Regions from separate parts of the Homo sapiens genome. Here region 2 is linked to region 1. The links are contacts of gene promoters, found by promoter capture Hi-C in human tissues and cell types (Jung and others, 2019). All regions are on one chromosome and are shown on one strand. Each heading gives the region's core, a stretch centred on a gene start or on the middle of the fragment in contact. The rest is flanking DNA. Distances are from core to core; before and after follow the strand shown.

Region 1 (3,122 bases), core at 359-2,858:
TATTGAAATAAAAAATACATTTTTATTTTTAAAAAATGTCCATACTACCCATACTACCCAAAACAATCTACAGATTGAATCCAATCCCCATCAAAATACCAATGACATTCTTCACAGAAGCAGAATAAACAATTCTAAAATTTATGTGGAACCACAAAAGACCGAGAATAATAGCAAAAGCTAACCTGAGCAAAAAGAACAAAACTGGAGGAATCACATTACATGACTTCAAATTCTACTACAGAGCTATAGTAACCAAAACAGCATGGTACTGGTATAAAAACAGACACACAGACAAATGGAACAGAATACAGTACCCAGAAATAAATCCACACACTTAGGGCATGGCTACACGGAGGAAGGGGTTTCTGAGCACAATACTCTGTGTGTGTTAACTTTGTAGTTTTGAAGTTAACAAGACCCTGGGCTCGCTATGCAGTCCGTATGTGATGTTGAACCCTTTACACACAGCACTAGACGGTTTTGAACCTATCAAAACACTGCTTCACTTAAATTTCACCAACTCCTTAAAATCCTAGTAAGTCTATGTTTTCCTTTGTTCCTATGTTCTCCTTTTCTCCCACTTTGTGGGTTGTCTGTTTACTCTGCTGATTATTTTTTTTGCTGTGCAGAAGCTTTTTAGTTTAATTAAGTTCAGTCTATTTATCTTTGTTTCTGTTGCATTTGCTTTTGGGTTCTTCATCGCGAAGTCTTTGCCTAAGCCAATGTCTAGAAGGTATTTTTCCGGTGTTATCTTGAGCAATTTTTATGACTTCGGGTCTTAGATTTAAGTCTTTGATGCATCTTGAGTTGATTTTTGTATAAGGTGAGAGATGAGGATCCAGTTTAATTCTTCTACATGTGGGTCACCAATTATCCCAGCACCATTTGTTGAAAAGGGTGTCCTTTCCCCACTTTATGTTTTTGTTTGCTTTGCTGAAGATCAGTTGGCTAATCAGATACCTCATAGCTCCTTTGTTGTATAATTTTGTGCATTGTAGATCAGGGTCAAAATGATAAAGGTGATTTTCTGGGACTACAGACTTGTCAATAACAGGTGGTCCTAGGCTGATAGAGGTAAACAAATAAAAGCTTTAAAAGAATATTCTCTGTTAAAATTTGCTTTCATAAATTTCATGTTTAAAATCATTTGTGAATAAATGTTAAAATAAAAAGGTGAGCCACGATTTTGGTAAGGCAATTTCTGAGCAAATCACACACAATTTTTTTTCATTCCCATTGATCTATTACATAGACGAATATTTGGTTGTGAAAAAGTGAGAGAAAGAACTCGGCTATTTTATTATAGTAGAGCAACACCGAAGGGAGACGACTTCGCTGTAGCTCAGAGTCTTTTTCCATTCTTCACCCACGCGCGGGGCAGTCGCGCGGCGCGGTCGCGCGGCGGGTAGGAACTACCATCCCAGCATCCTCTGCGGCGCGGGGAAGGAAGCCCGGGAATGAGAGAAAGAGGCTCCGGGGAGATAGCGGACCAGTGAGGGCTGCCCCTCTTTTGAAGCGGTTTTCGTCTCTTTCCGCCAGTGGCCTCCCAGCTCACGCAGGGGCGGGTCCCGGTAGCGCGAGGCGGTGCAGGGCGGGAAGGGGAGTGGTGGCGGCTGCGGCAGTAGGGACAGCAGGAGCAGTGGTGCTGTCAGCGCGGCCGTCGGAGACATGGGAGACCCGGGGTCGGAAGTGAGTAGTCGAGTGAGGGTCCTGGCGTTCTCAGAGGCGAACCGCGAAGGGTTTGTGTTTTCTGCGGTCTGAGGCCTGGTGCTCCGTCGCAGCCTCGGGGCGATACCTCTTCAGTGTCTTGGGCCGAGCCCAGCTCTGGGGCCTGGTGCGTGTCTGAGCGAGGAACCCGCAGCAACAATGGCCGCCCGGCCCCCCGCACGGGCCCTGGCGTTCGTTGTGGCCGCGGCTGGGCCAGTGGGAGCGACGTTTTAAGGCAGGATTGCCCTTCGGTGTTGAGCTTGCGTTCCTCCTGGAGTAGATAAGGGGAATTGTGAGAGGCTGGTAACTAACGCGTTTTCAGCGTTGGGTCCCTGCAGCTCCGCACACTCTGTGGCAAGAGCCAGAGCTCGAGTTCCGTTCCTAGTCGGGTTTCCGTGAAATTGTGCTCAGTTCGTTTTCCTCAAGAGCTCTCTGTCTTTAATTGTTCCTTTCGGAAACGCTCTCTTCCTACACGAATGTGGCTGAACAGATAAGCATGTTTTGGCTTGTTTTTATAGATAATAGAATCTGTCCCTCCAGCTGGCCCTGAGGCATCTGAGTCAACAACGGATGAAAATGAAGACGACATTCAGTTTGTCAGTGTAAGTAGCAATGATGATTGGGGTTTTCCCAGAGTAAAAGACTATGGTGGGCCATTATGTAATGTTACCTCACCTGGTCATTTAATGTTCATGAGTGTCTAATACATACTAGACACTGGAGCATGGCGCAGGATTGGGAAATTTACCAAAAGAGCTATCTGAGCCACCCCCGTAGCCATCACAAAGAGCACGTCCTAAAGAACGTGCTGTACACTTAATCTCGCCCCCTGCCTTTCATTTAAACTTAAGATAAAAACGCTGGTGTCTAAAACGCTGTTTTGAAATGGAGCAAGAGTAACTTCTAAAGGCGACACGGAGGAAGGAGCTGCTAATGATGAGCAAGGACGTAGAAAACAGGAAGGGTTGTGAGAGCCCAGAATCTTAGCGTTATGGTGCTTCTAACATGAAGGCAAATAGCTTGAAGATTTCTCTAACCTCTGAGATCATCATGTTACGGCATAGTACAGTTGATGCTCATAATGAAGAATCCTACATCACTGGGAACATGCTCTATTTTTCTGAGTTTGTTCCCTTTGAGACAGTAGTTTTCAAGCCTTAGTAAGTATAAACAGGCAGATTCCTGGGCCCCACTGCAGACCTACCGAATCAGAATTTCCAGGCGGGGGCCTAGGAATCTTCATTTTCAGACAAGTGCAGGGACATAAGGATTTCTGAGCACACTTTGGACAGAATGGGTTTCTAAAGCAGAAGGGAGTGTTTTATGATATATTTTGGGGTGATTTTCATCCATAATTGTTGGAGTTTTAGAAAGGCTTTGCGTAAAGTGGTATCTCAGCTCGCCAGGCAGAA
Region 2 (3,122 bases), core at 195-2,694, 340 kb before region 1:
TAAAAATAACAAAAAAAAATTAGCCGGGCAATGTGGCGTATGCCTGTAATCCCAGCTACTTGGGACGCTGAGGCAGGAGAATCACTCGAACCCAAGAGGCGGAGGTTGCAGTGAGCCGAGATCATGCCACTGCACTCTAGCCTGGGCAACAGAGTGAGATTCTGTCTCAAAAAACAAACAAACAAAACAATAGGTTTCATGCTCCTATGAGAATCTAACGCCATCACTGATCTGACAGGAGGCAGAGCTCAGGTGGTAAGGCTGGCTGGCCCAATGCTCGCCTCCTACTGTGCAGGCCACTTCCTAACAGGCCATGGACCGGACCAGTACCTGTCTGTGGCCTGGGGGTTGGGGACTCTTGTATTAGAGCACTGTAAGAATTCACCCAGTCCCGTTCTAAGGCACAAGCTTGAATTTATAAGGCTAAGGCCTACTTAAAAACAAGGCAGAAAAGCTAAGCTTGTGAATGTCATGTACATTCTAAATCTATGTACTTCTCTGCGTATCTTCAATATAACCAGAAAGCAGCCAAACTCTAAAAGAGCCTGAATGGGAACACTAAAAGATTATATTTATATAAACAATATTATACAGCTCCTGATCCTCAGCCAGCTGCTTTGTCTCTCAAAATAAATGGCTTTATTGTGCAGGTCTGATATCCTCAGTACACAGAAGGACAGTAGAATCCAAGCACATGATTACTTTGGGGACTTCCAGGATTGTAATAGTGCTGAGAATTCTGTGCTCTCTGGTCCACTATGCCTACACCCTACCAGACTTACATTTCACTCTATATTCCACTTCTTGTGTCTTTCTCACTCCAGGACAGTTAAAGATGGGGTATGATTCTGAACACTTATCTCATAGTAAGGCAATTTCACAACTTGACTTGCCAGACTGAACAAAACCCTCTACATAAGGGAAACTTTCCAAAACCAGGTGTCATTTGCTACTATCGTATTTATGTGACAACAAAGGAAAATTAAAACAGACATGTTTAGAGAAGGAAAATAATAATATTAAGCCATGCAAATCTAAACTAGGAAAAGATGGCCGGGTGTGGTGGCTCACGCCTGTAATCCTAGCACTTTGGGAGGCCGAGGTGGGTGGATCATGAGGTCAGGAGTTTAAGACCAACCTGGCTAAGATGGTAAAACCCCATCTCTACTAAAAATACAAAAAGTTAGCTGGGCATGGTGGCAGTGAGCTGTGATCATGCCACTGCACTCCAGCCTGGGCAAAAGAGTGAGACTCCCTCTAAATTAGGAAAAGAGAAAACCTGTGATAAGGGAAAAGACATTTTAGTCCTGCTTCTGCCCTTGGCCTTATGAATTTGTACCAACAGCCTAAACTCTCTAGGCTTCAGGGTTTTTTTTATCTTTAAAATAAAGGTTGGAAAACAGAAAACTCCTAGTTCAACCTAGAGAACAAAAAGTCTGTAATCTTTAAATCAAATTATTATCATTTTAAAAAATCAATGACCTGTCAACTTAGAAAATGTATAAAATAAAAGCTACTCTTAAGACTTATGGCTTAATTTTTTAAGAATTTTAGAAGAAAATGCAGAAATAAACTAATTTAACTTCTATAATGCTTGAAAAAAATCCAAAGACACTGGCTATCCCCAATACTGCCTGCTTTTCCTGTCTCAGCTGACTATTCTGAGGGTCCACAGAAATACTGTATATGGAAAACATCCTACAAAATATAAGATATCATTTTCCGAAAAGCAAATGTCACTAACAATAATAAACAAAAACACACACACCATGAGTTACTACTAGATGCCTAACCTTGTGCTAAGTACTTTATAATACTGAGTCAGTTTCCTCAGCACAAATGAGTGGAATAAAAGAGGATGCTATTAAAAATTAAAAATCAACATTATGGGTAAAGGGTGGTCGGGAATGAACTGAGGGGAAAGAATTGGGGTTCCAATCTGATCGAGCAAGAAATTTAAGGGAAAGAAAAGAAGGGAAAGTAGACAGCTAAGCCTACATAGAAAAGCTTTTATTTTACCCTAGGAGTGAGTCATAGGCATTGGGCCTGGTAACTTTCCTTCACAGATGACTATACTAACCGCCAATATCCCTAACATTCCATTTTCAGTTTTTAATAAAGCATTCCTTTTTCTCTTTTTGGATATGTTCTCCCTATGGGACAAAAAACTGTCTGGATCAATAGTGCTAGAGGAAGTGACGAGCAAAGTAAAAGCACTATGAAATACTCTGGGATTAACTTACATAACTTGAATTACATAACAAGGCTGATACAGCATTTTCTGTATTTCACACAATTCTCGTAGAATTTTGCAGTACTTCAAAAAAATATGTATATAGCATTGCACCTAGAGTTTACCTCTAGGGGGCACTAATCTTTTACTTAAAAGAATATCCCAAGAAAGTAAAATAGACTAGAAAACACTCTATGGGCAACAAAAATTCTAAACAAGATGCTGGCGATGACATGGACAATATTTCAAATTTATTTTGGAGTGAGAACACATTAGCTCATGCCAGGTCTGTATTACCTAAATGGCTTAACTTATCAAAAATACTACACTGAAAATTTCCTTTTGTTAACCTATAACTGTTTGGTTTTATATAGGCTAAATCAAATTCAACTTTGAAGAAAAGAGAATCATTATATAACTGCTTGCTGAATGTTTAAACTTCCTTTTTTAAAAGTCTGACATTATAGTGGTTGATGTTAATCTAGACAAATTTCACAAAAATTTGACTTCCCATTATTTAAACTTATTACTATTGTTTAGCTGCAATTCAATTCAGGTCACAAACTATTTATTGAGCATTCATCCGTCATATGCCAGGGTATCCTTTAAGTTCTATGGGTACAAAGATGAATAATAAGAGTGCCACCTCTTGAAGCCTGTAATCTGAAATGAAAGAAATTTAGGCAAGAAATTGCAGTATAAAATAAATGCATTCAGAGAACACTCAGGAAGCTATGAGGAGCTTAACCCAGTCTGAGGTCTTCCCAGCAAAGAAGATGGGAATGTTGCAGGTGGAGGGAGGAGCAAGAACAAAGGAAAAAGGCAAGGACACACAAAACTACATATGAGTTGCAAGGAAGGAAAGCAGTGGTGAAGTCAATGAAGCATG

The links. The method cuts DNA at HindIII sites, captures the fragments that hold promoters and counts their contacts. A contact is called where the count stands out against the background at its distance.
Region 2: a contact is called between a fragment that was not itself captured here and the fragment with the promoter of KIAA1586 in region 1, in 2 of the 25 tissues and cell types used here (hippocampus and small bowel).

What each region holds. Positions count from the first base shown.
Region 1 is chr6:57,045,085-57,048,206 of GRCh38, forward strand. It overlaps KIAA1586, which reads left to right and starts at 1,609. Exons shown (of 4, transcript NM_020931.4): 1 at 1,609-1,692; 2 at 2,229-2,312. The coding sequence starts at 1,672. RefSeq lists a silencer at 367-661 and enhancers at 1,291-1,380, 2,197-3,074. The HindIII fragment of the contact is 7,542 bases long and covers 864-3,122 here.
Region 2 is chr6:56,706,837-56,709,958 of GRCh38, forward strand. All of the region lies in intron 5 of DST (dystonin), which reads right to left. Among named protein-coding and RNA genes, the nearest start is that of DST-AS1, 140 kb to the right of the region's middle. The HindIII fragment of the contact is 3,563 bases long and covers 1-3,122 here.